4 separate regions of the Homo sapiens genome follow, and regions 2, 3 and 4 are each linked to region 1. Evidence: promoter capture Hi-C in 16 types of primary human blood cells and fetal thymus (Javierre and others, 2016). All regions are on one chromosome and are shown on one strand. Each heading gives the region's core, a stretch centred on a gene start or on the middle of the fragment in contact. The rest is flanking DNA. Distances are from core to core; before and after follow the strand shown. Region 1 holds the start of RNF6 (ring finger protein 6). Region 2 holds the start of MTIF3 (mitochondrial translational initiation factor 3). Region 3 has its middle 4.9 kb from the start of RASL11A. Region 4 has its middle 5.0 kb from the start of RPL21.

Region 1 (8,000 bases), core at 3,100-5,599:
GTGGAGGCTGATGCTACATAATTAGACCAGAGAGGAATGCACTGGGTACTCAGGAGATCCAATGGGGGCATTTCTTGGTATTCCTGTGCCTAGTTGTAACTGTAAATGAATAAGTACAGCCACCGTAGCCTGGTAAAAGCATGATAATCAGGGTCTGAACCCCTCAGGGATGAGTGCCTGGTTCAATCCATCAGTCAAGCCACCTGCACCAGCAGAAGTGCTAGCTGAGGTGGAGGGGAATCTAGAAAGGGTAGTGCAGGAGGGAGATAATGAGTATCAGTTATGGCCTTGGAACCAGCTGCAGCAACAGGGGCTGTAGTTTGTCCCAATACCCTTGTCTTTTAAAAATTTCCCAGAAATTGGGATTAGAAACTGCTCAGATGGAGAAATTTCACATGAGAAGCAAAAGATCTCAGCAATACAAAGCGTGGACCATAGTGAACGTTTTTTGTTTCCTGCCCAAATCCACTCTATAAGCTCATGCATCTGTACTCCAGCTGCTGGGAGTATTGGATAACAATTTCAGCTGCCTTCTTCTCTAGAGAATTTCCCTTGGCTAAAACAGGAGCCACCTCACGCATGAGGTTCTGCTGCAATCCTGCCCCTGAAGATCTCACCCAATGAGGGACAGGCATGTACGTACAAAGAGCTGGCCAACAAGGCCACTTGGTGGTGAATTTCACGGGATCAGTGGAGGCTCATTCTTGTTTCCTTGTCCTCCTGGCCAATCCTGCTTCCTCTATCCCCTTCTCCAGAGTGCACCGTCCTAATAAAACACTTCAATAACAATCCTTGTCTCAGGCTTCGTTTCTAGATAACCTGATCCAAGACCATCTCTGGCCTAATTAAGACCCTGGTTATCAGGAGTATCCTTGAGGGTTGTTTTTATATGCAGAAAAGGACTATTCCGAAGTTTCTCTTGAGGAATGAAATACTGAGACATGCTACAACATGATGACCCTTGAAAACATTATGCTAAGTGAAAGAAACCAGACACAAAAGACCACATGACGTAGAATACCATTTGTTTGAAATGCTCAGAATAGGCAAATCCAGAGACAGAAAGTACATTAGTAATTGCCAGGGGCTGGGAATAGGGTGGAGTAGGAATGAGAGTAATTGTTAATAGGTATAGGGTTTCCTCTGGGGAGATGAACCTGTTTTACAATTAGATTGTGGTGAATGCTGCGCAAGTCTGATTATACTAAAAACCACTGGATTGTATACCTTAAATGGGCAAATTTTATGGTATGTGAATTATATCTCAATAAGGCTGTTAAAAGAGCTATAAGGAAATAAAGAACATATTATTTAAAAAATCTTTGTCTTAAACAGTTAATATTCAACTTATTAGTTCCAAATTCAATGTCCTAGTTACAACTTAGGTTTTTACGTTTGGTTTACAGCTCTTATTATTCTAGTGGTAAGCATAGTAAATCTTTCTGTTTTTGTTTTTTTTGAGATGGAGTCTCGCTCTGTTACCAGGCTGGAGTGCAGTGGCACAATCTCAGCTCACTGCAACCTCCGCCTCCCAAGTTCAAGCGATTCTCCTGCCTCAGCCTCCCAAGTAGCTGGGACTACAGGTGTGCGCCACCACACCCAGCTAATTTTTGTAATTTTAGTAGAGATGGGGTTTCACCATGTTGGCCAGGATGGTCTCAATCTCTTGACCTCATGATCTGCCCGCCTTGGCCTCCCAAAGTGCTGGGATTACAGGTGTGAGCAGCTGTGCCTGGTCAAGTATAGTAAATCTTAACAGTCATTTGGAATTAGCCCTTCACTAACTTTCAATCTCATTCATATACATATTTAATATCTTCAAACCAACATTTTAAACTGTATTTATACATTTAATATTTTATCTCATTCACAAGTACTTCAAATGTTACATGTAATTTCGTCTTTAAATCTTATATAATAATTTTTAAACTAATAATAAAACAATATGGGGAGCCTATATTTCTCTTTGCTGCTCTGATGCCATCCATAAACTTAGCAAGATTTCAACTTCAACTTAAAACTTGAAATCGAGTGCTCCATTTTGTTTTAAATTGTAATTAAGGCTGTCGTTTTATGAAGCCAAAATCTTTTAAACATGACAAGTACATAATTTACCAGATATACAGAGAATCCTTTTAATGTTATGGTTTTAATTATTTTAGATCTTTGTATTCCTAATTGTAAAAAGTCCAGGAGTTACATGAGGCATACACACTACAAAGGCCAGGTACCAATCCAATAAACAGAAATTAATTAGACCAGAGACCTTGGCAGGTTCTGAGACCTGGAGTAGATATCCAGAATGATTCATCTGTCTGTTCCAGCTGTTGTATCTAAGCCCCTCTTTGTAGTCATTTTGTCTTGGACTACAAAAACTGAAGCAAGGTGTTGGATTCAAGTTACATACATTACCTGATTCTCTACTCACAAAAACCTGCAACTTCCTACCTGGTAAATCACTTGATTGGATTTTTATTTAGACATTTTTATAATAGTTTTTTTTTTATTCTTAGGGTATATAATAGGAAATAGGAAAAATAGGAAGAGACACATATGTCTTTTCCACTCAACATGTAAAAAGTATTTGCACTTGGATTATTGCATTTGATTGCACTCTCCAAAATTCACAGATATTAAAAATGATTTCTACTTGTTATTTTCTATGATGTGTGTTCACAATATCTGAAGTCGTTGTACTGTGTGCATTAATCCCGTTTGCCAAAAGATTGCATTTTTCTCTGCTCATCTATGCAGTAGGCTGAGGAGAATGTTCTGCCAAGTGCTGTGCTAAGTTCTGGGATTACAAAAATGAATTAGACCATTTGATCACACTTAAGCAGTTCAGACTCTAGGTAGTAAAGACCTAAAAACAGAAAATCATCTTAAGTATTTGCTCAATGGCTCTTTTTCCATGGGAAAAGAGGGCAAGGACTTCATTCTATGAGGACATGACTGTCTGATTCACGGCTGTCATCACCAGCACCTAATACATAGTCACACTCACTATTTGTTAAATACATGAATACATGCTAAAATAGGGTTTTATATATAGAGGGAGTATGGGAGCCCCCAAAAGGGACATTTGCTTAGTTTTATGTGTAAATATCGGGCTGGAGGGTGAGGTAAGGGTGTTATTTCAGAGGTATCAGGAAAAATTCCTTAAAGATGAGAACTGAGCTGAGTTTTGGGAGACAGAGGAAATTAGGTAAAAGTGGAGTTGGGGGTTGCTTAGGAGTTCCCATATCTTGTGGCGGAACTTCAAGCAGTTTCGGAGTGCCAAGACAACAGCCTGTAAATGTAAGCAGAAGAAAGATCTGGAAGGGCTTTCTAGGCTGTTTTATATATTTCCATTTTAGTATCCATATCCATATGCTTATTTTAAACACTTGTCCATAGATCCTTACTACACTGGTAGCTCATTGATGCTAAGGACTGCATGTAGCTTGTTATCCAGGTGCCCAGCATAATAATGGGGATATGGTAGTTCCTCAAAAGTTAATGCAGAAATGAAAGAACAAACGGAAGAATAACAAGTAACGGCATTGTGAGCACTCTCCAGTGATGAAGTCATCAGATGGTAGGGATGTCAGGAAAGGGGACTATACCAGGTTAGACAGAGACCTACTCAGCATCTTAACTAACGGTGAGGTAAGTTTAGTAAGCCTCACATCTCAGAAATAAAATCAGAGGGAGGAATGTTGGGAGTTTCAAACTGCTTTCCTAGCGGGAAGGTGAAAAAACACAAAATATAGTGGGGTGCGGTGCCTCATGCCTGTAATCCCATTTTGCTGAGGTGAGAGGATTGCTTGAGGCCGAGTACGAAACCAGCCTGGGCAACATAGCGAGACCCCCGTCTCTACAAAAGAAAAAATGTGAAATTAATGGCAAGCGCCTGTAGTTCCAGCTACTGGGATGAGGAGGGAGGATCGCTGGAGGCTGCAGTGAGCTACGATCGCTCTAGCCTGGGCGACAGGATGAGACCTTGTCTCAAATAGAGATAGACAGACAGACAGACTTCAGAATTTATTAGGGTTTGTAATTTCCAGGTTCCAAAGCACAGCAAGGGAAAGGGCCTGGCTGGGTAGTACGTTACACCCGGAAGTAAAGAGACGCATACACCGTTGGGTGCACTTTATAGTCTGGCTGGCAAACGAGCGACACCGACGCGCAGAGTTAAGTGCTGGGACTTCCCAAGCCTGGAAAGCAGACCGTGTCTCTGCAACTACGCGGCTGCCACGAGCGCTGAGCGGCCGGGCATTTGGCCTCGAGGAGGAGGCACTGTAAGGGCGGCGCAAGAGGGCGGAACGCGGGACGCCAGGCACCCTAGCTCCCGACGGACGCAGTTTTCAGTTGCACGGGCGAGCTCCGGGCCGGCTGCGGAGCGACTCCCCGCCGCCAAGTGGGCGGCGTGGCTGTCGGGAAAGAAGGGCTGGGGCCTGCCGTTCTTCCTCCCGAGTATCCCCTCCAGCTGGACGACCCCACGCTGCAGCACGGGCTTCCGGCTTCTCTCCTCAGTGGCCAATTCGAGGGCACAGCGGGCTCCGGAGGCGCGGCGGCAAGCCTATCCCGCCTCCCAACCACAGCCTCCAGCACCCGAGAGAACGGCCGCCCACAGCACACGTTCTCCGGACAGGAGGGCGAAGGCCCAAGACCTGGAGAGGTGGGCTCGAGGGAAAGATCTGGGTCCCACCACTACTTCCTGGAGACGCCGGGGAAAGCAGGCCATCCTTCGAGCCACCCATCTCTTCTCCGATTGGTTAACTGCCTTCTTATTGCGCTCCGCTGGCTGGTGATTGGTTGGGATGCACCGTCTATCACCTGCTTCCTTGTGAGAATCTAGGTCTCTAAGGGAAGCGTTACTTGAGGCTCGGTTGGGAAGAGGTTGGTTGGGCCTCTTGAGCCCACTTTATTTATCGTAGTGGGGATCGTCCCCCGGCGCGAGCTTCCGTCGCAACGGCCGGGAAAGAAACCAGTAGCGGGACGGAGGGCGGGGGTGGCAAGAAAGTCAAGGTTTAGAAGTAAGCCGGAGACGCCTAACCCTGGTAACATCCGAATGGGAACGGGATAGGAAGGAAGGCCTTTGAGAGAGGAGGCGTAAACCCAGGAACAGTGACAGTGTAGGACGAAAGGCCTAAGTTTGTTGCGGAAGGTAGGGGCCTTGCGGGAGGTTTTCGTGACCTAATTGTATGGGGATCTAATTTTCTAGATGTGTCTAACAAAATCCACTGGAGAATTTGCTTTGGCTTTGCAGCAGAGTGGGGAGACTACCACCCGTTCCTGGCCTTTAAAGAAACAGTTTATTGAATTATTCAACTCTCTTTTATTGCTTCAGATGGGCAGCTCTCAAAAAAGGCACAAACAATTGAAGGATGGATACCATGGCATATGTTAAAAGCGTGTTGAAAGGAAAATAAGGTATTCGCTTTGTTTTCATTGTGATTAACTGTATAAGAAAATTACCTTTAAGGAGAAGCTCAAGTTTTAAATAATATTAGGGTAACTTGATTTTATGATAGGCTTCAACTTGTAAAATTATTTATTACAAAAATCCTATTATTGCTGTACCTACGAAATATGCTCTTTGCTAATTATGGTCTTAATCTGAAGATAGAGATCTTGAGTTTTTAGTAGTGTTAATTCATATTTGAGTGGATAATGTTACTAGGTCATTTGTTCAAAATGACATAATAAAATAACCACAGTGAAAAAAATCCTTGAATTTGTAATTTAGTGTTACAGGTGAAATTGAATAGTTGCTTACTCCAACAGTATTTTAGACTTGTAGGCTAATTTCACCTTATATTTAAAGCAGCTTGCTTATTAAATACCTAGTGTATTTCGAGAGGCAGAGTTGCACAGTTGCTTCACTGGTAGCCTAGCCATTTGAGCCTCCAGCCTCTACTGAGTCAGGTGCTGTATTACTCATACCCTTTAGTGACATGCCAGAAATTGTCGAGGAATAGTTTATTTCATCTGCAGAACACCCAAATTAGCTCTTAACAGCAGACCTGGTCCTACCCTGGAAAACTCTAATCAAGGATTGGGGATGAGATTTGGGCATCTAGATTTTTAAAAATACCCTTAAGTGAGTTTGAGAACCATTGCTTTAGTGTGACTTACTGAATAGATGTATTTAAGAAATTCTAAAATATTTGTGAAACAAACATCTTTCTCTCTTGATTTCCATGTAATTTAAAAGTGAGCTTCTCAGGAGTGACACTTAAATATAATCCAAAAATAGTGGTTTCTTAGGCAAAGTCAGGAAGTTTCACTGGCATTCTGAAACTCCTGGGACTAACCATTCCAGGCTTAAGGATGAGGCTTGATATGGGGTGATACAAAGTGCTCTGATGCACTTTCACAATCCTTGAGCCATACATGATGTCTTGTTTCCTGTTGGGTTTCAAAGTCTTCCTGGTAAGCTTTAATAAGAGACCACCTTCCAGTTTGTTCAGTAGATATTAATTAGGCTAAATGATTTTCACCTCATCAAAGTGCAGTGGGGGATAATATTACATTCATGAGCCTTATTTTGGAAAGAATACCTTGCTGAAAACAAATGTAAATTATATCATCCCAGTATCCCTTTGCTCATTAAGTGAAGAATGTGCATAATTCAAGCCTAAAATTTGTAATTAATGTGAAGTACCCAGATCCTGAAACATAAATGAGGACTTCTGGATCAACTTTTCCAGATCGTCAACATGGTCAAAAATGAGATAATCACTATGGTATTCAGGCATGAGCATTGTGTGGTAAACCCAAATCCAGTCTGACTTAATGGCTTTAGGCAAAGAAGTAAGTGCCAATTGTGTTGTATTTCCTAGAAGCTGTTTTTCATTTTATATGTAAGCTTCTCACTGCAAGATTTGGCAAATACAGTATTTGGGTAGGGGACAACATTTAAAAATTAAGAAAAACTGCAAGTTAAAAATACAAAGCCAAATGTGGTCCATGACTTAACACCTTGAATGTTGTTTATATTGTTTGAACAGAAAGCCAGGAATCTCAGGATGAATCAGTCTAGATCGAGATCAGATGGTGGCAGTGAAGAAACCTTACCTCAAGACCATAATCATCATGAAAATGAGAGAAGATGGCAGCAAGAGCGTCTCCACAGAGAAGAGGCCTATTATCAGTTTATTAATGAACTCAATGATGAAGATTATCGGCTTATGAGAGACCATAATCTTTTAGGCACCCCTGGTAAGAGATGGGTAAAAGAGGAAACACCCTTTTTTCATCATTTAGATGGAAGGATTTCAAGATAAGGAGAATTGGTATTCTTTTTCCTTGCTTCTCTTTATGAAAATATAGTATATTGTTTTTGTGAGTTTAAGAACTTTTTAGTATAATAAAGTAGAAAATCACTGGCTTCTGTATTTTATAAGGTGAAAATAGGGGACATGGAGCACTATTATACAAATGCCAAACTAAGAAACAGGTTAATGTACATAATGGTGTTAAGTATTTACATATATGGTCCTATTTGTAATTTTTATACAAATAAAATATGACTTAAAACCCAATTTGAACTCATTTGGGGTATTATAATTTATTTATTCAGCTGAATTAATAGCTCCCCCCAAAGCCCAATGTGTTCCATAAAGTTTTTACAAATGAACTAATGGAAATTTGTATGTTTATATATTGTGTGTTTGTATATTGATGACCCATATAATGAAGTATTTGGGATAAAATTCAAGTAAATATTTGAAGTTTTCTCTATAAATGCTCCCTTAATTTCTTTTTAACTGACAAAAATCCACAGTTATAGCTTATAGATTCCTAAGTGTATCAACTGGCAGCACTTTACCAACTATTCAAATTAAATCTTATTTTAATAATTTTTAATAAAAGATTAATAAATGAAGCACAACCGAATTGATGCACATTTGTACCAGTTGAATATTTTTAACTGTCTTCAATTTACAGAACATATGAAAGTAATAAGACATTTGTCTTCTATAGGTTACTAAAGATTAGTCTTACCCTTCATG
Region 2 (8,000 bases), core at 3,807-6,306, 1.2 Mb before region 1:
TGTGAATGCAGACTTTACACAAATTAATCTATTGCTGTTCAACTGACTGTAAAATTAGTAGATTTACTGTTGCAAAAAAAAAAAAAAAGAAAAACTAAGAGCTTTCACTTTCACTTTGGTAAGGTCATGGATGTGTCCTAGGCTGCTAACAAAGCAGGCTTTAAAAATCTTTGCAGCAGAACCTAGCAACTTGCAAGGTGAAAAAGCAGCAAAACAATGACTCCAATGTACAGTTGAAAGTCTACTTCCCTATACAGTAAACATCTGAAATTCCACATTTGAGGAACTTTCAAAAATGGAATAATTTGCCTTTAATTCCATTTGCCTCAAAGATGGGAAACTGTGAGAGCACAAATTTATTTTATCACAAACATTCTATTTGCTGTCAGTCCTCCCCTCCTTAAACAGCCTTGTAACTACGTCTCACATAGGTGTTTAAAAATAGTATAGGGTTGCATTCTTTTTTTTTTTTGTTTTGAGATGGAGTCTCCCTCTGTCATCCAGGCTGGAGTGCAGTGGCGCAATCTTGGCTCACTGCAACCTCCGCCTCCCTGGTTCAAGGGATTCTCCTGCCTCCGCCTCTCAAGTAGCTGGGACTACAGGCACACACCACCATGCCCAGCTAATCTTTTTTCTTTTTTTTTTTTTTTTTTGTATTTTTAGTAGAGATGGGGTTTCGTCATGTTGGCCACGCTGGTCTTGAACTCCTGACCTCATGATCTGCTTGCCTCGGTCTCCCAAAGTCCTGGGGTTACAGGCATGAGACACTGTGCCCGGCTGGGTTGCATTCTAAATGTAAAATGCTAACTAATCATTTGGTACTGTTTTGCTTTATCTACACAACAGTCAGCATGGTACACTTTGTACTAGCTCTTTGTTGTTCTGCATGATGTCCTATGATGGTAATAGAAATTATTTTCATTGTTTCAAAACGATCAAAGTTAACTGAATCACCTCAAAACTCAACACCTCTGAAATGGAAAGACATGTCTCTGTTGTGTTCCAAATGAAACTTCTGAACCTATTTTCTGCTTCTGCAGTTGCACAAGAGACTTTTCACAGAAGTGGATCTTCCATATACAAATATTTTTATTTGGCAGATATGAAAGTTTTTAAAACTTTATTACAATATGTCATTCATTTTAGACATTTTGCTGATTCACAACCACCACGTTTTAATAACTGAGGCCATCATATTCTGACAAGAGAAATGATTAATCTGGAGTCTAATGTTATGGGAAATCTCACTCATGGTAAGGAAATTTATTTTGAATCTAGCAAATAGTTTGAGAGCACACAAAGGGTTATAACACAGATGTGGTCACCAGATGTTCTCCAGCTCTACTGCAGAACCAGACTAAGTAGCAACATGATGGATTTAGGTTATGTAAAGGAAAAGACTCCCGTCTTATAAAACATTGAAATGAGAAGCTAAATCTCCTGGCCTCGAGTTTTGTTTTGGCTTGTTTTAAATATAGAGATGTTTTACATGTTTGGAATGGATTAATTATAGTCCTGCCTGAGGAAAATGGTAGAGATTTCATAAGAAGGCTTTCGGCTTTAATAGTTTCTAACAGACAATAATAGACACACAATATTGGGCTGACAGTATCTTCAGGAAGCTTTGAACGAGTTACCTAACACTCAGCCAAAGCCTCTTGCATGCCTTGTTTCTATGACTCTTGACAAGTCTGTAAACATCAACTAAGGAGAGCATGGACCCTTTTGGCTATTAAACTGGCCTTGTAATGACAGAGTTGCTGCTGTTTAAGATAACTGCTCTCAGCTACATTTAGTTGGCACTACATAGGATCTCACACATAATAGACTTAAATTCCCCCAATTTTAGCAAAACTGCCCAGGTAAGAGTTTATAATCTGGAGAGGGAGGAGTATCTAATCTATGAACAATTATTTGTTAAAGAATATGCTGAATATCTGAACCCACATGGGCTTTAAAGTTTGAAGATGCTTCGTATCTTCAAAATAAACCCAAGATTTTGACTGGGCATGGTGGCTCATGCCTGTAATCCCAGCACTTTTTGGGGCCGAGGCAGGTGGATTACCTGAGGTCAGGAGTTCGAGACCAGCCTGGCCAACATGGTGAAATCCCGTCTGTACTAAAAATATAAAAACTAGCCAGGCGTGGTAGTGGGTGCCTATAATCCCAGCTACTTGGGAGGCTGAGGCAGGAGAACTGCTTGAATCCAGGAGGCGGAGGTTGCAGAGCCGACACGGTGCCACTGCACTCCAGCCTCGGCAGCAGAGTGAGACTCCGTCTCAAAAAACAAACAAACAAAACAAAAAAACAACCACCACCAGGATTTTTATTAGTATTAGATTTTTAAATGAATTGTTAGTCATTGTGGCATTATAAAGACGCAGCCCAGTGTTCATAACTTTTTAAAGAAATCACCCACAGACTGATTCTTTTGTGGATCAGATATGTTGTACCTCAATGACCTTGGGCTAAGCAAGTAAATCTCACATACAATCCTGTTTTGGAAGGTCCCCTCGGCGTTGGGGAAAAGTGGGAGGACTTGGAAAGCTAACAGGCAAAGAGAGGGACGGGATATTTCCATTATTCCTTCATCAGAGCAAATCACCAATATATTCATTGAAAGAGAAAGTTCATGGGCATGCTATGGAAATTAACGTAGAAATTACTATGTAATAGAAAATATAGGCATTTTTAGAGTCACCATGATTTGAGTCTTATTGAGTTACATTTTTTGAGGGGGTTAAATTATATGTAGAAACGATAACAATTGGGAAAGCTCTACACATGTCTCAGAGTCCTCTTCTATGTACATAACGGAGTAGTTTATTAAAGATCTGTGGCATAGTAATAGCATTTCCCCAAACCTCTTCATCTTTATTCAAGGATCTTCAAAGTCTGCCCCCACCAAGCACAGCTCAAGGCTCTCAATGACTCTTTAAAAGCTTCCAAGTGGCCGGGCGTGGTGGCTCACACCCGTAATCCTACCACTTTGGGAGGCCGAGTGGGGTGGATCACCTGAGGTCAGGAGTTCGAGATCAGACTGGCCAATATGGTGAAACCCCGTCTCTACTAAAAATACAAAAATTAGCCCGACCCAGTGGCACGCGCCTATAATCCCAGCTACTCGGGAGGCTGAGGCAGGAGAATCGCTTGAACCCGCGAGGTGGAGGTTGCAGTGAGCCGAGATCGCGCCACTGCACTCCAGCCTGGGCGACACAGAGAGACTCCATCTCCAAAAACAAAACAAAACAAAACAAAACAAAAAAACAAAAAACCCCACAAAAGCTGCCAAGCTCCATTTCGGCTGGAGGTCAAAGAAGAGTTCAAGGGAAAAGATGAAAAAAATGGCTTCTCTCCATCTGTGGGCATGTCTGTAATTGCCACCCCATCTCTGCATGTCTCCTCCCAGGAACACTAAAGCACCATCTTCTAGGCGTGGAGACATCTGACAATGGAAGTCTAGAAAGCTTCCTAAACCACCTGCTCTGGACACAGCTGCCTTCAAAGACGGACTGCAAATGGATGCTGGCCGGTAGCTTCAGTTACCAGTGATTACTTGGTGTGAATCTACCTGTGCTATTACCTTAGCAAATTTTAAGTCTTTAGTTTGGGCATTAAATGTTTCAGTTACTTGTACATACTTCACATCCTTTTAATGTTTTCATGGACTCGTACTGTTTACTGTTTCTCTCACTACTTCAGTCTAGCAATGCAAGGAACATTTAAAGTTTGCCTGGGTTTGGGGTTTTTTGGCTTTTTTATTCTTGATTCTGCTACTAGTTGTGCGACCTTGGGCAAATTTGTTTCAGTTCCCTCATCTGTAAAATGGGTAATAATAATAATTGGCTCATAAGGTTGTCCTGAAGATTGAATAACTTGAGATATGTTCAGTGCGTAGAACAGTGTCTGGCACATAGGCAAAAGCAATCACAAATGTGGGCAATTATAATTGCTGAGCACCTAACTTTTCCCAGGTATTGTGCTACTCAGTCTGTCCCCGAATCTACGTCACACAAAATATCTTGGCATTGAGAAATAATTTTGATAGAATAAAATGAATCCTTAATTCTTCTTGATTAACTTGGAAATGGCCAAGATGCACACCTGGACTTTCGGTCTCACACAAGAGTTGTTTCATTACCTCCCTATTTTAACAGTGAGCGTCGAGCTACCAGCAGCTAAAAAGGAAATGGAGATTTCGTCTTTGCTCCCAAAGAACTATTTAAAGCTTTAGTAGTTGTGTCATCTGTAATAAAAGACGTAATGCTGACTCAAGGAGTTAATGAGAAATAAGACAACGCCTTCCAGTGGACAAGTAGCCAATAAATGTTAGTTTTTCTTCGTACCAGGAATCCAAACATTCCAGGTATGAAGCCAGATTAGGTGGCTTCACGACTGTGGACTCGCAGTCTGCCCTTGAGGAATTTCTTATTGAAGAAGAAAAAGAGGGGGGACACGGGGCCCAGACCCCCAGCACCCGGCTTTCGAGCAGGCTCCACGGGTCCGGGTCCGGGTCCGTTTTCCCTTTCGCCAGCTGGGGCCCCGTTCGAACCTCTCCCAACTACAACGCGGAGGCTCCGACGCCCCGGCCCCAGCTTTGTTTTGCCTCCGGGAGCCGCGCGCCACCGGGGACCCGCGGGGAGCCGTTCTCACTCCGAAGCTGTCTGCTCACCTGCAAATCGGAGACAGCGCCCTTTCACTTACGATCCTTATAAAAGACGCTTATAAAACATTTTATTCAGTGTTACATTAAAAAGACGTTTATGAAAGCAATTTATAAAGCCCTAGTGGGAGACCGAGATTGGTGTTAATGTAACTGGAGTAAGGGCTGCTCCGATTGCTGCAGAAATTCGACATTAGCCTTCACCGCACCTGCGGAGCAGCGGGAGCCAGGTGAGCAGCAATTTCCCCTCAGGGACTTCCTCCGCGTTCTCCGCATTTTCTGTCGGCGGAACTGAATCCCAACAGTAGAAAAACGTGGCTCCGCCCATCACCTTTCCTTTAAAGGACGCGGGGTGAAGCCCCGCCCACTACGGAGAGCGAAGGGGACTCGCCGCAGATCCGCTGTACTTGCGTCCGCTACAGTATGTCAATCGCTTGCCCCAGCACAGGTAATGCTAAATATGAGGCGTGCGGAGCGGTGCGCGGACCGGCATCGGGAGGGCGTGGCCTTAGGGGGCGCCCCTGTGGAGGAGGCACCCGGAAGGTCAGGGCTACCCCGTCCCGCCGGTACCGAGGGCGGAGAGGCTCCGCAGGTCCTGCTGCGGAGTCGGAGGGTTCTGCCGGGCTGTAAAGCCATTTTCAGCGAGGCCGCTGCACGAACTTCCGAGGGATGTTAGACCTAGAGTTGCCGCCAGCCCCACTGAGCTTTTCTAGTTCCGTCCCGACATGCGCGCCCTCGTTTGTGCGCACGCACGCACGCAGTACGTCGCTACGTCCCGTCTCTAGCCCTGGCGCTCCGCCGGTCCCGTTCTGCAGGTGGGCGTCGCCGCCGACTTACCAACAACCGGGTCGGGGGCTCCCGGAAGTGCTCTTGCGGCTTACTGCCTGGCACAGGTGGGGCAGAGCGAGCCAGGCGAAGGGCGCCTGCGCAGGACATGCTGGACAAATGCGTTGTTCTTGCTGCCTGCTGTTGCGGGAGGAGGCCTTATGGGGGAAGGTCGCGAAGTGACTGGGATTTTTTTTCTCATTTGTCATTTAGTGGGCTCCGTGGCTTAAGACTTGAACCAAGTAAACGAAGTTCTCTTACTGAGAAGTCTCAGTTTCAAGTACGTGTTGTGAAAGGCCTAAGTCTTAGAAAAGTAGAGGATGGAGAGAAGAATCTGAAAATCGACTACTATTCATTCTGTCAGGCACAACACAGTAACGAATAAGTCCATTTTGTTCCTGCTTCGTAGAGTTTACGGTCTAGTGATGGAGAACAGCAGTGCTAAGATCATCACAAAACTGTAATTGTAATGAATGTTTTAAAGGAAAGGTCAACTGGACTGTAGAAGCATTCAGTGTTAAGCTCAGTAAATTGGGGGAGGGATGGGAGAACTGGCTTAGTTTGGAAGGTAATCAGAAGAATGCGCTAAGGATCTGGCGTTTCCTAAACCAAGGACGAGAGTACTGTATTTCAAAAACCGAATGGCCAGTGTGGCCTAGGCATAAAGAAGAAACTGGAGAGGTGGGAAGGGCCTTTTGGCCTGGCGAAGGTGTAGATCTTTAATCTCGGGGCAGTTTTATTTAAGGTGAGGAAGGTCCTGGGTGTAGTGACCGCAGTGCAGTGGGAACTGGTTGCCAGGGCTCAAGCCGAGTTAGGAGACTGGCAGGAATCCAAACGAGGTGGTCGATGTTTTAAACTGACGGTGGTGACAGTGGATACGGAGAGGACTGGATGGATTCGAGTGGGGTTTAGGAAATGAAGTCGATGAGGCTTGGTGTTGGGTTGACTGGGAAAGTGGAGGCGTCAAAGGTGTCTTGGAGGTGACTGGAGGTTGTGGATGGGTAGTGATCCCATCACTAGAGTTCTGGAAGAAGACTAACATAGGATTAACATAGGAGAATAAGTTAAAAAAAAATTTTTTTTGAGAGTCTCACCCTGTTGCCTAGGCTGGATGCTTAGGCTGGAGTGCGGTGCACGATCTCAGCTCATTGCAACCTCTGCTTCCCGGGTTCAAGTGATTCTCCTGCCTCAGCCTCCCAAGTAGCTGGGAATACAGGCTCACGCCACCAGGCCCGGCTAGTTTTTTTGTATTTTTAGTAGAGATGGGGTTTCACCATGTCGGCCAGGCTGGTCTTGAACTTCTGACCTCAAGTGATCTGCCTTCCTCAGCCTCCCCAAAGTGCTGGGATTACAGGCGTGAGCCACCGTGCCCGGCCGTAAGTCCAGTTTTTAATACAGAGTCTTTAGCTCTGGGTTTAAAAGCTTTTTAAAACATATGGTTATTATTTCAATTTAATAGCTAAAGAAATAAGGTTAAATAGTTGGCCAAAGATATAATGTTGGCTTTTTCCAGTGTTCTAAATGGGAGTTCTAGCACGTAAACAGCTCAGCCTCATTATGGAGAGTACACTTTGTGCTCCCTATGGAAGAGCAAAACCAGAGCCAAGGGAGGGGAGCATGAAGGCCCAGTAACGGTAGCGCAGGCCCTCTGGGATTAAGGCTGCACTGCTCAGGCCAGAATGGGGCAACTGGGACAGTTTGCAGGCAGAAGCAAGGACTTTATGAAACTTCTTTGGAAGGTGTAAAAGAGTTCTTAGAGTCATGAGAATTGGCAAAATTAATTTCACAAATATTTAGTCCGCTAGAATCTATGCAACTTTGATCCAATCTCCCAGGAAAGAACAGATAACAGTATGAGCTTGTGAATATCAGCTGTATGAGAAAAGCAGTGAGTGAACAAATAATAGAAGTTATTTTCGTCTCTTCAGTCCACATGATTTCAAATGCATGCAAGCAATTTTTTATAGGACGAGAATGCCCACCCACCCACCCCTCATATCTACTAAACCACATATTTAAATCATGTTCCAGGAAGTTTCCCTGCAAATATTTTATCAGTACTTCCGGTAGAATGCAAAATAATGAATTATACAGGGAATACAGCTGTCCTTTGGAGCAGTAATAATTGTCTTTTTTTTGGTACAAGAATGTTCACAGCAGCTATTCATAAGAGCCAAAAATAAATAAATAAATAAAGGGAACAGCCTAGGTGTTCATTAACGAAAACTAGATTTAAAAACTGCGATATATTCATATACTTGGAGGACACTTCTTAGAAATAAAAAGGAACAAGGTAATGATCCGTACAACGTGAATGAATCTCGAAACATGCTGAGATGTCTTACAACAAAGAGTAGATATTGTTTGGTTCCATTTATATGAAGTCTTAGGACAGACTGATGGGAAAAAATCAGAACAATAGTTGCCTCTTGGGGATGGAGATTGACTTGGAAATGGCAAGAGGGAACTTCCTGGGATAATGGTGATGTTCTGTCGATAGGAGTTTTGGTTA
Region 3 (8,000 bases), core at 2,271-4,770, 1.0 Mb before region 1:
TTAGCATCTCAGTATCCATGCCCAGCCCCTCCTCTGCAGGCAGGGGTTGCACTGGCTCATTCCTGAACACTCATGAGCACTCCACTGGCTGGGGGCCCTGGCCCTGCACTAAGTGTCCATCATTAATACTATCCTATGTGCTTGAGTCATGCATTTGCTTCAGTATCCAAATATTTACTTCTAGGTGCATGGTGGGGTCTAGGGTGGGGTGGGGGGCAGTGTGAGGAACAGGACACAGAGCTATAGACTGGTTCTTGGATTTCTGGAGCCCACCAGAAATAGCACAGCAGAAGCCTCAGGACTTTAACCTTGAACAGTTAGAAGACCTTCATGCCTCTGACCTCCTGTGTTCCAGCCTCACTTGCCTAATCGCCTATTAGACAGCCCCACCCTAATTCATACCTTTCTCTACCCTGGTTGTACCAGTTTTTGCTGCATGACAAGCCACACCAAACTAGATGGCTTAGAACAACAATCACTTACAGTTGTTGAGCCCTTTGATGCATCTGCAGGGAGCTTCCAGGTTCTGGAAGTGGGGGCTGGCTGCCCTTGGATAGCCTTACTCATGTCTGGCAGCTGTTGGCTGTGATGAGGGAGGGTAGTGACTGAGTTACATGTCTCTTCTCATTCAGCACGTTGGCCAGGGCCTGCCTTCATGGTAGCTGAGCAGAGTTCCAAGAGAGTGGGTGGAAATGGATAAGGCCTCTTGAGACCTAGGCCTTGAGAAGGAACCCATCCCTTCTGCTGCATTCTGTTGGCCAAAGCAAGTCATGGGGCCAGCCCATATTCAAGGAGTAGGGAAATACACTCCGCCCCTTTGTGGAAACAGCAGAAAAGTCACGTGTGAAAGGGCAAGGAAGCAGAGAGTGATGGAGAATGGGGTCCATTTTTGTAATTGACCATGCTAATGAATGTGTCTCCATCCACCCAGTGGCCCAAGCCTGGGAGACATCCTTGACTCTACCCACTCTCTCACTTCCACATTGATTAATCGCCAAGTTCCATCATTTCTCCTCCTATATTTCTTGGTGTCTCCCTCTGTATCCCTACTGCTCTCATTTCTTTTTTTTTTTTTTTTTTTGAGACGGAGTCTCGCTCTGTCGCCCAGGCTGGAGTGCAGTGGCGCAATCTCGGCTCACTGCAAGCTCCGCCTCCCGGGTTCACGCCATTCTCCTGCCTCAGCCTCCCAAGTAGCTGGGACTACAGGCGCCCGCCACTACGCCCGGCTAATTTTTTGTATTTTTAGTAGAGACGGGGTTTCACCGTTTTAGCCGGGATGGTCTCGATCTCCTGACCTCGTGATCCGCCCGCCTCGGCCTCCCAAAGTGCTGGGATTACAGGCGTGAGCCACCGCGCCCGGCCTCATTTCTTATCTGCAGAATTCTGAATAATCCTGAAGTAAACTAATCTAGACTAGATGGTGACTTCAGTTTACATGTTCCTCCCTTGGAGAAGCCGTCTCTGATCACTGCCACTGTCCCCACCCCTATCTTGCAGTTACTCACTCTCAGGGCACTGATCTCAACTATCATTACTTTCTGGTGGAATATTTGTTTCATGTCTGTCTCCAGGAGGACAGGGACTCTAGCTTGTGACTCTAGTACCCAGCACATAGTGGCACCTGGGACTGGCAAGGTCCTTAATAAATGTTTGTTCACTGGCTGACTTTCCAAATGAATGAATGAATGCTGTCTTCAGTGTATGAACTGGAAAATACAGAAGTCATGTTTCTGACCATTTTCCCATTGCCTTGGTTTTGAGAGCAGCTTGCTCTCAGGAAGACGTGTGCTGGGAGATGTCCTGAGATAAACTGCCATATTTAAGTTGTACTGACTTTTGACTGTTCATAAGGCAATTTTCTCTGTTAAACTGCAGTTTAATTGAAAAGACTTGAAGCAAGGCACCTTCCTCCCTGATGGGGGAAAAGGCACCATAAAGACAATGACTGTCTAGGGAACAACTGGAAGCTGTTAAGTTCCAGGGTCACGTGCAGCTCCGTGATGGGGGTCTGGGCTGTTGTCTCTGATTCCTTTTGACTTCTCCTTTATGGATGCAGGGTGGCTCCTGCAGCATCAAGTCCTTACCCAAACAGGAAGGGAAGGAAGTACTCTCTTAGTTGTTCTCTTTATGAAATAAAGCAGTTCTCACAAGAACTCAGCAGACTCTCTCTTACATCTCACTGGCCAGAACAGAGAAACTGGGAAAGAGATTACTCAAGTATCTAGCAAAGAAGACTGGGATGGCCATGACTAGTTTAGACAATCATGATTCCTCCCTCTAGCTGGACATACCACCACCCCCATCCAAAATCAAGAACTCACAGAGAGAATGACTGCCAAGGAGATCTGCCATAAACCCTATTCACCTTCCTGGAGTGAAAATCCAGCACTTTCAAGGGAAAAGAGTCCTTTCTTGGTGGAATGCTGAGTATCTCTGTCTCTCCTCACCTCCTTCTCTGTTTTACATTCCCAGTCTGGAATAAGACCATTGTAGCTTAAGGTCAGCCAATAAGGAAGATTCCTAAGACTGTTCTCTGCCCAGTGATAATTATGTTCCACTTTGCATTTACATTGCACCTTTGCTCAGAAGAGCTCAACATGTTATTTCATTCTCCTTGGAAAAGCTCTTTGCATTTATAAATATACAAAATAATCCATGACCTTCTAGTGAAGACAGTAAGTGACTGAACTGTAGAATTATAAATAGCCTTGCCTAAATTGTTGCTGCTTGTGTTCTGCCATTTCCTTTTAAATTTGTGTCCAGAGTTATGTAAAACTATGGTGCAACCAATATAACAGGCGTGCTGAAGTGGTTTTAAAAAGATAATAGAAATGCGTAGGCATGGATACAGATATACAAATCTGTGGGTGTTTAGAATGAGCATAAAGGCCAGAGTTTGGTAATATGCAAATAATAGCACACTTGGGAAGTTATTAACTCTTTCCCAGTCAAATAAAAGCTTGAATTCTAGTCATCAGGCAAAATTTTGCCAAGGGTCCTCCTCTTGTTCACAAACAACTCCCCCACCCCAGCCATAACCCAACATCAACTCCCTCTCCTGTATATCCTAAGTCCTTGACTATTGAGTTTACCGGAGCCTCAGAGCCCCTGCCTTTGAGGTGCTCTCCCTAAACAGGAATCATGGCTCTGCCCTCTACCAGCTCCCTATTTTACTTCAACTCAGCAGGCACAATTACTGAAAATTGACTCTGTGAGGCTCTGTGATAAGTGCTTGCGCAGAACATAAAGAGCAGCGAACATTTACTAAGACAGCAAAGTATAACACACTCCTGCCTGCCTTCACAGACATCCCTGTAGTGAAGAAATTTATCAAATTCACTATCATTTATAAATTACTGTTGAGTTTACCAAGAAAATTCTCAAATATTATCTTAATTTTTAATTAATCCTGTGAAACAGGTAAAGAATATCCTCTAAATTGTGGTTTAGACAAATTGAGTAACTTATCCAGTCACAGAGCCATATAGTGGTGCAGGCCTCAAGCCCTCTGAGTTTTAATCTTGGCACATTCCACGGGTATGGAGGGCAGGGTGCAGAGCCGGGCACTGTGGCTCCCACCTGTAATCCAGCACTTTGGGAGGCCAAGGCAGGAGGATTGCTTGAAGCCAGTGTTCAACCCTGTCTCTACAAAAAAAGAAAAAAGAAGGAAATAAAAGAAAAGAAGGAGGGAGGGAGGGGAGGGGAGGAAGGAAGGGAGGGAGGGAGGGAGGAAGGAAAGGGGAAGGGAGGGGAGGGGAGGGGAGCAGAGGGGAAAGAAAAATTCGCCAGGCATGGTGGTGCATGCCTGTTGTCCCAGGTACTCAAGATGATGTGGTGGGAAAATTGCTTGAGCCCAAATCAAGGATGCAGTGAGCTGTGATCATACCACTGCACTCCAGCGTGGGCCAGAACAAGACCCTGCCTCAAAAAATTCAAAATTCAAAAAAAAAATACAAAATAAAGAAAGCAGGTTGTAGAACACTGTGTTGGTAATGGAAGGCCAGAGCAGGTCAGGATGCAAACTCCAACAGAGCTGCCACAGGGAGAGTTAGGTCTGATCCAAGTATCAGGGAAAGCTTCAGCATGAGCTGGGCTGCAGGTGAGTCAGGTGTGATCGGTGGAAACCAGGGGAGGGCGAAGGCCTGTCAAATTGAGGGAACAGCATGCGCAAAATCATGGAGGTACATGACAAGTGTGAGGAATTCTGAGTAGTCTCAACAGTGAGAAGGGTGTGGTAAGTGACCCAAAAGGCTGGGGGCCAGACTGTGAATGGCATGCTAAAAAGTTTATCCAGAGGCTATGGAAAGCCATTAATCATTTCTTGAGGAGAAGAGCTCCTTCTACAGTTGTTTCTCGGGTTATCTGTAGGGCTTTAGTTCCAGGACACACTGAGAATACCAAAATCCAGGGATGCTTAAGTCCCTGATATAAAAAGAGTGTTGTATTTTCATATAACCTATGCACATCCTTCCTACTTTATTTTTTGAGATGGAGTCTCACTCTGTTGCTCAGACTGGACTGCAGTGGTGTGATCTCGGCTCACTGCAACCTCCACCTCCCGGGTTCGAGCAATTCTCCCGCCTCAGCCTCCTGGGTAGCTGGGATTATAGGCGTGTGCCACCATACCCGGCTAATTTTTGTATTTTTAGTAGAGACTGGGTCTCACCATGTTGGCCAGGCTGCTCTCGAACTCCTGACCTCAAATGATCCACCCACCTTGGCCTCCCAAAGTGCTGGGACGATGGGCGTGAGCCACTGCGCCCGGCCCTTCCTTCCTACTTTAAATCATCTCTAGATTACTTATAATACCTAATACAATGTAAATGCTATGTAAATAGTTATACTGTATTGCTTAGGGAATGACAAGCAAAAAGTTTGTACATGTTCAGAACAGATGCAATTTTTTGTCCCAATATTTTCCATCCCAGCTTGGTTGAGTTCATGGATGCAGAACTCACAGATACAGACACAAAGAGCAGACTGTACATACAACAGTATGAGTACTAGGAGCTTACAAATAATAGGATATGGGCCTGGTGTGGTGACTCATGCCTGTAATCCCAGCATTTTGGGAGACCGAGGTGAGAGGAACCCTTGAGCCCAGGAGTTCAAGGCTGCAGTGAACTGTGATTGTGCCACTGCACTCCAGCCTGGGTGACCCTGTCTCAAAAAATAAAAACAAAACAAAATGATATGGTCTCTGACCTCAAAGATCTTAAAACTGTTTACTTACTCATCTCCCATGAGCAATTAATTTAATCTGAACCTCTCTTCCTTCTTAGGTGGAACCAAAAAAATCCAATCATCTTCACTTGAGCTAAGCCATCATCTCATTTTACAGAGACAGTAAAGAGTACCCCATTTATTTTCCAACCCAAATGATTTCCATAAATCCAAGTCTTGCTGGAGAAGTGTGTACGACAGCATTTGTGTGCCTCTTCCATTAGTGGCTTTGTGTGGTGGCCTGTCAGCAGCTCCTCGCCACACACGGCTGTTTGAAAAGAATCACAGTGCAGAGCCTCGGCTGCTTATTCACTCCTCTGTGCACATTTTCCACCTCAGCAACAGCAGCTGCAGCTGCTGCCTCACTGTTATTATTCATAACCTAGCAACTGGTCGAACAGATTCTGTGGAGAAGGATTTTTGCTATCAATTTTTTTCTAAGTGGAGCTGGGGTGAAGAAACATGCTATAAACACTCATTCCAAATAAATCCAACCCAGTTTTAAATCCTTTGTCTTGTGCACAAAAAAAGAGTAAGATAAACCTACCTTGTTCATATTTTAGCAATTCTTTATATTTTAGCAAATTTTCCATCCTAGTACAGAGAAAATGCTACTACAGGAGTGGGAATATGGAAGAGACAAGAACCTGAGTGTGTGTTTCTGCCACAACATTCAGAAGAAAACTTCAAAAAACAGTGTGATATATTTTATCTAACCCTTTGGGACTGGTTTCAACTGAATAAAAATAGAAGGCCTTAGAAAATACCTGGCTAGATCAGAACAGACTTCAGTTCAAAGTTCAAGGAACCACACAGCCTCACTTACAATCATGGCTATTACTTAAAAATAGGGTGAAAAAATTTATAGTTAGGATATTTTTCTTCATTTTCACTGACAAGTGTAAGAAGGGAAATTGGACAGTAAGAGGTTAATTTATAAATTCACAATCTGTGGTGGTTGCTCAGGACCTGCATTTCAAGGCAGACATGTAATCAGCACACACACACATTACTCAAAGTTCGGAGGTTCCAATTTAATTATCTCCCCACTTATAAAACCTAATCTGCAGGACATCCAGATGGAGCTGCCCAAGAGGAAGATGGAACTACAGATATGGGGCTTCAGAGAATGTGAGCTCTGCAACTGAGCCTCAAGTATCAGAGAAGGCTAAAGACGTAGACCAGTGGTTCTCAAAATTGAGCATGCATCTTATTCACTCAGAGAGCTTGTTAAATAGAGTGCTGGGCCCCATCCCCAGTATTTCAGATTTGGAGGGTCTTGGGCAAGTCTGCATTTTTTTTTTTTTTTTTTTTTTGAGACGGAGTCTCGCTCTGTCGCCCAGGCTGGAGTGCAGTGGCACAATCTTGGCTCGCTGCAAGCTCCGCCTCCCGGGTTCACGCCATTCTCCTGCCTCAGCCTCCCGAGTAGCTGGGACTACAGGCGCCTGCCACCACACCCGGCTAATTTTTTGTATTTTTTAGTAGAGACGGGGTTTCACTGTGTTAGCCAGGATGGTCTCGATCTCCCGACCTCGTGATCCGCCCACCTCAGCCTCCCAAAGTGCTGGATTACAGGCGTAAGCCACCGCGCCCTGGCCAGGTCTGCATTTTTAACAAGATCTCAGATGATGCTGATGCTGCCAGCTGGGAGATCATACTTTAAGAACCTCTGGCTTAGATAACCCAGGAATAATTTATAAAGGAGAGAGAGACAAATGTGGAACATCTAGGAGGGGCCAGAATGAGGCTAGAAGGGGGTCAGATAGGGAGAAGAAACAGTAAAGTATGATGGCAGAACCCTCTGCAAGAGAAAGCATTTGTTGGCTGTGTCAATTATTATGTGGATAAAATTAAATTGGAAAAAAGTATCTACATTTGTTAATTAGCAAGCTTTTCGTAACCTTTAAGAGTACAGTTTCATCAGTGGTGGAGGCGGAAGCCAGATTTGCAGTGGGCGACCAGGAAATTTAGCTATGAAAGGGAGGAGGAAGGCACAACAGGAAGGGCTGCTTGGTTTATTTGCTGGTTTTTGCAAGCCTGCAGGCTGAAGTCAAAAAAGCAGCAAGTTGGGCTGGGCGTGGTGGCTCACGCCTGTAATTCCAAAACTCTGGGAGGCCGAGGCGAGCAGATCACCTGAGGTCAGGAGTTCGAGACCAGTCTGGCCAACATGGCAAAACCCCATCTCTACTAAAAATACAAAAAAATTAGCTGGGTGTGATGGAGGGCACCTGTAATCCCAGCTACTCGGGAGGCTGAGGCAGAATTTCTTGAACCCAGGAGGCGGAGGTTGCAGTGAGCCAAGATCACGCCACTGCATAGACCAGGATAATCAGTGAAACAAGAGGGCAGAGGCAAGAGCCCTGTCAATACCAACTCTTTCCTCTTTTACCCTCCTTGATACCTTGTTTTATGAAGGGATTTAGGTCTTACTGTTCCTCCTATACTGTCACCTCCTTAATAAGGCTTTATGATGTGTCTTTTTTCCCTTCATTCCACAGTAGAGTAGGTACCAGTAAACATCCCCTTACTGGCCAGGTGCGCTGGCTCACGCCTATAAATCCCAACACTTTGGAAGGCCGAGGTGGGCAGATCACTTGAGCCCAGGTGTTCAAGATTAAGTCTGGGCAATATGGCGAAACCCCATCTCCACTAAAACACAAAAATTAGCCGGGCGTGGTGGCATGCTCCTATAGTCCCAGCTACTCAGGAGGCTGAAGCAAGAGGATCACTCGAGCCCAGGTATTCGAGGCTGCAGTGAGCCTTGATCGTGTCACTGC
Region 4 (8,000 bases), core at 1,178-3,677, 1.0 Mb before region 1:
GTAGTTTATTTAAATTGAGATAATGCCATATACCCAGCATCCAGTTTCCCCTATTATTAACATCTCATGCTAATATGGTACATTTGTTGCAATTAATGAACCAATATTTTACACTGTTATTAACTAAGGTTCACATTTTATTCAGATTTCCTTCGGTTTTACCTAATACCCTTTTTCTGTTCCAGGATTCCATCCAGAATACCACATTACATTTAGTTATGATGTCTCCTTATATGCCTCTTGTGGCTGTGGCAGTTTCTCAAACTTTCCTTACTTTTGGTGACCTTGAGAGTTTTGAGGAGTACTGGTCATGTATTTTGTAGGATGTCCTAATCATGGAATTTGTCTCATGTTTTTCTCATGATTGTATGTATTTTTAGGATGCATTTTTAAAAAGTCAGCTAAGTTAACAAAATCCCTTATCAGACTGAATATAAATAATATCGTCCAGTCGCTTTTGAAATTTGCATGTCTTCGACTCACTCTCCTGATGCACCTGAAAGTTGTAATTTCTAAGAACTGCGTCAGCACCATTTTTTAAATGTGTACATTCTGTGACCATCGTCATCAGCACTTAACATCATTTGCTGAAGAACTTGAGGAGGAATAGGATTTGGTATTGATTCCTTCAATACGTTGACTCCTCCAGACTTTCACTGTAACCATTAGCCCTTGGCTTCTAGATTGTCTTTAACTTAATTTTCTGTAGTTCATTATTACAGTCACTCTGTTAGCACTCACTTCCTCAGGTCACTTTTCCTTTCCCATTACTTTCTTTCTTTCTTTGAGAGGGAATTTTGTTCTTGTTGCCCAGGCTGGAGTGCAGTGGCGCGACATCGACTCACCACAACCTCTGCCTCCCGGGTTCAAGCGATTCTCTTGCCTCAGGCTCACGAGGAGTAGCTGGGATTACAGGCGCCCGCCACCACACCTGGCTGATTTTTTTGTTTTTAGTAGCGACGAGGTTTCACCATGTTGGCCAGGCTGGTCTCCAACTCCTGACCTCAGGTGATCCACCCGCCTCCACCTCCCAAAGTGCTGGGATTATAGGCGTGAGCCACCGCGCCTGGCCCCCATCACTTTCTTAGCACATACCGAACCTTGGATAAATGCAACCGTGACAGTACCTCCACAGCTGAGCACCGTTGAAGAAAATCTTGTAATCTGGTGTGATGACAAATCAGAAACTAGTCATCCATGCACTATATTTTTTTGCACTTGGAAATATTTTTTTGAGCCCATAGAGTGTTTTAAAAATTAACATATCAAAAAAAAAAGATTTCTGGCTTCCCTTGAGAAATCAGGAGATCTGGCAGCATAGAGCTGATAGTCTTGATGGCCACTCCACTGGCTTCCCCTTTAGATGGGGCATTCATTCTTGAGTTCCTTCATCACTCAGCCTGCTTCAGTCATTTACCTGCCTGGCTCCTGTTGGCATTTGTGTTTTTAGCCTCTCCCATAAATTCACGACCAACCCTTAACAAATGGGTACTGTACTGTTTAGCATCCCCACTACAGTTCCCCAGTTAATTTGCTTACCTGCTGTCAAAAAAAAAATTAAGCTTTTACATAATTAAAGTTAGTTTTATTCAGAAGTCTCACTGAGGACTGTAGACCAAGGTTTATACCCTGAGGGCAGTTCTTTCACAGGGCTCCAAAGTGGTCCCTCAGCCCATTGCTTCTATGTAGGTTGTGGGGGTTCTGTATGTGTGAAATCTCATTAAAGTTTGGGTGTAAGAGTACATCAGTTTATAGATTACTAAAGTAATTTGGTTATAGATTGTAGAAGCATAATCACTAACCCTGTCAGACATCTTCATGTAGGAAAAGGCAAGGTCAAGTTCATTTACTGTTTCAGGAACGTTGTAACTCAGGCGAGTGACACGGGGGGCCGTGTGCTCTATCCTGTTTTAAGATTCTTCCTGAGGAGCTGCATTTCATCACAGTCAGGGGTTCAAGCAGAAATAAGCAAACCTGGCTTAACATTTTCTATTTTGTCTCACATTATTCTATTTAAAGATTATTTCATGTCATTTCTTTGATTATCAAACCTTCCTTTCTCCCACCTTTCTTTCAGCTGATGACTGCCTCTTTTTTTGAGACTCTCTTAGTCCCCAGGCTGGAGTGCAGTGGCATGATCTCGGCTCACTGCAACCTCCACCTCCTGGGTTCAAGCAATTCTCATGCCTCAGCCTCCCAAGTAGCTGGGATTATAGGCGTGTGCCACCACACCCGGCTAATTTTATTATTTTTGGTAGAAACAGGGTTTCGCCATGTTGGCCAGGCTGGTCTTGGACTCCTGACCTCAAGTGATCCACCTGTCTCAGCCTCTCAAAGTGCTGGGATTACAGGTGTGAGCCACCACGCCCAGCCAACTGCCTCATTTTTATCAGTGTACAAACATGCTCCCAGCCAACTCCATCATTTTTATCCATGTACAAACAGGCTCTGGTGTTCCCCACTAAAACCCGCAACTCTCTTCTTTCTGATTCTGCTTGATCTCATATTCCTTTATAACTACTGCCCCATATGTTCATTTTTCTTCTGTCAAATGTAAAAAAAAAGGAGTCATGAAATTTTTGGTTTTGTACATCAAAAATTGTGAAAGTTCAGCAGTGTCATACAGTTTAATACATAAACACTATTATCTCTTCCTCATCTTTCATTCAGCTTCAGTTTCATTTGACTTCTGTTCTAGTCATGTCATTAAAGCTGCTCTTGTCAGGGCATCAACTGCTTATATGTTGCCAAAGCCAAAAGACATTCCCTGTTCTTTCCTTTCTTGATCTCCGCAAAGCACTGGACTCTGTTGGCCAGCTCTTCCTCCATGAAACACTACCCTTCCTCACCACTCCACAGTCTGATTTGCTGATTTTCCCTCCTCTCCCTGTCCTATAAAGACTACATTTCCCTGGGTCTTGGAGCTAGGCCCCTGCTCTTCTCTTTCTGTACTGCCTTCCTGGTTAATTCCATTTACTCCTATAATTTTAAATTTCATCTCTGTGTTGCTTACTACCAGATTGATTTATGTGATTCCAGCCTTTCCTCAAGATTGCTATTCAACTTGATATCTATTCTTGGATACTCTTTAGCATCTCAACATGTCCAAATCTTTTATTTTTCTTTTCTTTTTTTTTAACTGCTCCTTGTGGAGCAGGGCTATCCCATAGGCAGCGTGCCTAGAGTAGCCAAAATTAATTGTATGTGGGTACTCTACTGTTTAACATCCCCACTACAGTTCCCCAGTTAATTTGCTTACCTTCTGTCAACTTAAAAAAAAAATCAAGCTTTTACATAATTAGTTTTATTTAGAAGTCTCACTGAGGACTATAGACCAACGTTTATACCCTTGGTATAACCTTATGGGATGTGTTGTAAGTTTTTATGGGATGTTTTTAAGTTTTAGATATACTTTTTTTTTTTTTCTTTTGGAGACAGGGTCTTGCTCTCTTGCCCAGGCTGGAGTGCAGGAACATGATCATGGCTCACTGCAGCCTCAACCTCCTGGGCTCAAGCCATCCTCCTGCCTCAGCCACTGATGTAGCTGGCATCACAGGCATGCACCACCACACCTGGCTAATTTGTAAAAATTCTTTTGTAGATATGGAGTCTCCTTTTGTTGCCCAGGCTGGCCTTGAACTCCTGAGCTCAGGCAATCCTCCCACATTGGCATCCCAAAGAGCTGGGATTGCAGGCGTGAACCCCTATGCCTAGCTCATAAAACTTTTTATTTTCTGCCAGATGCAGTGGCTCACACCTGTAATCCCAGCAGTTTGGGAGGCCGGGGCAGGCAGAGTGCTTGAGCACAGGAGTTCGAGACCAGTCTGGGCAAGATGGTGAAACCCTGTCTCTACAAAAATACAAAAATTAGCAGGGTGTGATGGTATGCGCCCATAGTCCCAGCTGCTTGCGGGGCTGAAGCAGGAGAATCACTTGGGCCCAGAGGTTGAGGCTACAGTGAGCTGTGTTCATGCCACTGCACTCCAGCTGGAGCGACAAAGTGAAACTTTGTCTCAAACAAGAAAACAACAACAAAAAAACTTGATTTTTACCCTGAAGCCTGTTTCTGCTCCAATATTTTCCATTCAGTACATAGCATAATCAAGAAACCTTGGTTTTGCCTTTAAGTTTCCCTTTATCCCTTCCGTATGGAATCCATTGGAAAGTTTTGTTCCAGTTCTGATTGTAAAATATTAATATATTAATGTATCTCCAGCTGACCTACCTCTTCCCATCTCTGTGGCCACGCCACTAATACGTCTTATTCTGAACTACAGCAATGGCATCTTTATGGTCACTTTTTTTTCCTCTCTTGCCCCTGTTCTATCCATTTCCTATATAGTGGCCAGGGTGATCTTTTAAAAATATAAACCTGATTATATCACACCCTTGCTTACAGCCCTCCACAGGCTTTCTGTTGCTCTTAGAATAAAATCTAAATTCCTTACCTTGTCTTACAAAGTCCTGTATAAACTAGATCGTGCTTATCTTTTCAGATTCCTGTCTCCCTCACTTTCTTGTGTCTCTCTCTGCCTTCTTCAATTCCGTAAATACTTCAAGTTTTTTCTAGTCTTGGGATCGTTATGCATGCTGTTCCCTTTGTTCTTCAGTAGCTTGATCTTTCTCATCTTCTTGATTCCCGAAAGAGGCTTCCTAAGAGAAGTGATGCCCAAGACATTAAAACATGAATGGGCGTTAGATGAAGACAAAAGAGCATTCCATCGTAGAAGACAATGTAGCATGTGACGGTGAGTACAAGCAGTGTGGTGTTGCCCATGCAAGACAAGAGTGATGGGAAATAAAGCCAAAAGGCAGATGGTGAAGGTTCTTACCAAGGTGCCAAAGAATGCTGAATCGAGCCTGTGAGGCTGGAAGCAAAATGGAGTCAGCTATGCTAGACTTCTCTCACTTTCTTTTTTTTTTTTTTTTTTTTTTTGAGATGGAGTCTCACTTTGTTGCCTAGGCTGGAGTGCAGTGGCACAATCTTGGCTCACTGCAGCCTCTGCCTCCTGGGTTCAAGCAGTTCTCCTGCCTCAGCTTCCCGAGTAGCTGGAACTACAGGCGTGCACCGTCACGTCCTTCTAATCTTTATGTATTTTTAGTAGAGACAGGGTTTCACCATGTTGGCCAGGATAGTCTTGACATCCTGACCTCATGATCCACCCGCCTCGGCCTCCCAAAGTGCTGGGACTACAAGCATGAGCCATCACCCCTGGCCTGACTTCTGTCACTTTCATAATCTTTGTAAAGGTGGTTTCAACCTCATGTCACATACCTTAGGGGTAAAATCAGTCTTGGACACTAAACCTCTCAAAGGTTTTGGTGAAGATGTGTGTTTTCACAAGTTTATCAAATATGGAGTTCTTAGCACTAGTATTCTGATTGAAGATCTCCCCAATTGGAATAACTTACACATTACTGGAGGACTCCAAAAACTGGTGAAAATTACAGCAATGAATGAGAATGTCACTCTCACAGATCAGCCCTCGATAGAATTCTGGAGTGCTGTGACCACTGTTTTCCTCATGCTCCCTGAAAGCTTTTCTGAAGGAAACCTCTCTACAGAGATTGCCGGACTGTCCTATTTAGATTAGTATGATTGGTGCCCAAATGTTCTGCAAGGAGGAGATTTGTTATTTGAAGACTCTGCAGATAGCCTGTCCTCACTCAGCACTGGAGTGGCAGCAGTCTTAGTTGTAAATTACATCACCTCATGCATGGTTCCTGTGTTAACTCTGTGATTTGCTTTCCTACCTCCCAGGTCTCCTTTCCACATGTCTACACTTATTGTACCAGGGTAATTTTGTTTTTAATATTTATCTTGAAACAATTTCAAACTTACAGAAAAGTTTCAAGAATATTACAGAAGACCCCTGTATGCCCTTTCTCTGCATTCACTGATTGTAACATTTCACCACATTTGTTTTCTCATTCTCTCTGTATCAGTGGTTTTCAAAGTTTAGCATGTATCTGAACGACCAGGAAGGCTAAGGTTAAAACACAGACTCCTGGCCCCCACCCCAGACAGGTGATTTAGTAGGTTTGAGTTGAGCCCAAGAATTCGTATTGCTAACAAGTTCCCAGGTGACACTGCTGCTCCTCCAGGGATCCCACTTTGAGAACCACTGTTTTCTCCATCTATGTAAACACACTGTATATGTTTTTTTCTAAATTGTTTGAGAGTGGGTCACACATATCTTTTCCTCTTTAGGCCATATACTGTACTGATTTGTGTCTCCTAAGAATGAGGACATTCTCTCATATAACCACAGTACATTTATCAAATTCAGGAAACAAAACTGATACAATGCTTATATCAATTTTTTTTTTTTTTTTTTTTTTTGGACAGAGTCTTGCTTTATGGCCCAGGCTGGAGTGCAGTGGCATGATCCTAGCTCACTACAGTCTCCACCTCCTAGGCTCAAGCCATCCTCCCACCTCAGCCTCCCAAGTAACTAGGACCACAGGTGCCACCACACCCAGCTAATTTTTTAATTTCTTATAGCGAGGGGGTTTCACCATGTGGCCCAGGCTGGTCTTGAACTTCTGAGCTCAAGTGATCTGTCTGCCACAGCCTCCTAAAGTGTTGGGATTGCAGGCTCCTGGCTGGTATCACATTTACAATCCACATTTCAAATGTCAGTTGTCCCAATAATGTCCTTTATGGCATTTTTTTTTTACATGATCCAGTCAGAAATCATATGTTGTATTTATTAATAGTCGCTGTGTCTCTCTTAGCTTTTAATCTGAAGCACTTCAGCCTTTTCTTGCCTTAGGTGACATTCATGTTTCTCTAGTCTGCAGGTCAGTAATATTTGCCCTGGTATAAGCAGCGTTTTCTCCCTTATGTGCCATCTGTTTGCACGAAGATCACGCAAATATCTTGCTTCTAAACAAACTTTCCCTCCTGGATTAAGTATTCATCGTGATTCTTGCAATTTTTACTGTGATGGTTACAAAGCGGTGATTTTCCAGCTCCACTTCTACTTCCACATTAAGGAAAGGGTTTCCTTTTTTCCCTATTCATTTATTTTATTCGTTCATTTACATGTCTAAATGTTAACCTCTTTTCCCTTTCCCTCTAAACCAATTGTGTTCCTCAGGGATGTCAGAGTCTCCTTTAAAGGACAAGGTGGAAAGTGAGAGGGTAGAGCCCAGGCCCCTCACCCTTGCTGCTCCCCGAGGAGTGCCACATTTATCTGCTTCCTATAGTAAGGTTCATTTACAAAACAAGCGGTCTGCTACTTTTTTAAAAGTTTGAAAACCACCATCTTAAATAAATATCCTCTGTGCCCATTACAAAAAAAGAAAAAAAGAATGCTTAATCTTTTTCTATAGACAGTTGAGAATCTGACTCGTTTTAACCAAAGGCATGACAGTGGTAGTGATAGCTGATATTTCCTGAGGGCTCATTCTATGTGCCAGTAAGCACTTACAAATATTATCTTACTTAATTCTTATGAAACTCCTAGGAGGTAATGGGTGGTACCTATTCCTATGCATTTAGAAGATTCTACAGTGTACAAAAAGTCGCTCTTCAGGTTTTTCCATTGCTGTTTTGGGATTGAGCTTTCTCAAGTCACCTACGTCAGCTGGCATTTGTCCATCTGTTTTTCAGCTTTCAAAATGTTGCTGTTATTTTTTATCTTCCCCATGCATATGGTTTAGGTCGTTAGACACACACACACACCCACACACACACACACACACGCACACACACCCAATGGGATTCTCGGAGGTAACAAAATTAGATGAGGGTATTTAATCCATCATTTTAATCTGGAGCCCCTAGGGATGAATTATTTAGATGCAGGATACCTAATAATTAGTTTAACTCATATTGTTTTAGCTGAATTGGATGTTGAAGGCATTCCAATACTAAATGAGGAGTTGGGTTACGGAGTGGACATTGGGACATTGTTTTTTAGCTACTCAAACTCATTCCTTCTTCCTACTAGACCTCCATTTACTTGGGGGCCTTAACTCCTGTCCCATGTGCA

What was found. The method cuts DNA at HindIII sites, captures the fragments that hold promoters and counts their contacts. A CHiCAGO score of 5 or more calls a contact.
Region 2: the fragment with the promoter of MTIF3 here is called in contact with the fragment with the promoter of RNF6 in region 1 in 6 of 17 cell types (total CD4 T cells, non-activated CD4 T cells, activated CD4 T cells and 3 more); the score reaches 9.4 in total CD4 T cells.
Region 3: a fragment that was not itself captured here is called in contact with the fragment with the promoter of RNF6 in region 1 in 1 of 17 cell types (naive CD8 T cells); the score reaches 5.6 in naive CD8 T cells.
Region 4: a contact is called between a fragment that was not itself captured here and the fragment with the promoter of RNF6 in region 1, in 1 of 17 cell types (neutrophils). The highest score is 5.2, in neutrophils.

The regions. Positions count from the first base shown.
Region 1 is chr13:26,218,663-26,226,662 of GRCh38, reverse strand. It overlaps RNF6 (ring finger protein 6), which reads left to right and starts at 4,349. Exons shown (of 5, transcript NM_005977.4): 1 at 4,349-4,660; 2 at 5,333-5,415; 3 at 6,996-7,206. The coding sequence starts at 7,014. RefSeq lists enhancers at 4,289-4,668, 3,814-4,695, 4,696-5,577 and a silencer at 5,119-5,168. The HindIII fragment of the contact is 7,611 bases long and covers 1-6,424 here.
Region 2 is chr13:27,447,620-27,455,619 of GRCh38, reverse strand. MTIF3 (mitochondrial translational initiation factor 3) reads left to right here and starts at 5,056. Exons shown (of 5, transcript NM_152912.5): 1 at 5,056-5,111. RefSeq lists enhancers at 4,622-4,681, 4,702-5,061, 4,905-5,819. The HindIII fragment of the contact is 2,682 bases long and covers 4,231-6,912 here.
Region 3 is chr13:27,261,925-27,269,924 of GRCh38, reverse strand. No RefSeq gene overlaps it. Among named protein-coding and RNA genes, the nearest start is that of RASL11A, 4.9 kb to the left of the region's middle. The HindIII fragment of the contact is 1,117 bases long and covers 2,962-4,078 here.
Region 4 is chr13:27,242,508-27,250,507 of GRCh38, reverse strand. No RefSeq gene overlaps it. Among named protein-coding and RNA genes, the nearest start is that of RPL21, 5.0 kb to the left of the region's middle. The HindIII fragment of the contact is 1,725 bases long and covers 1,565-3,289 here.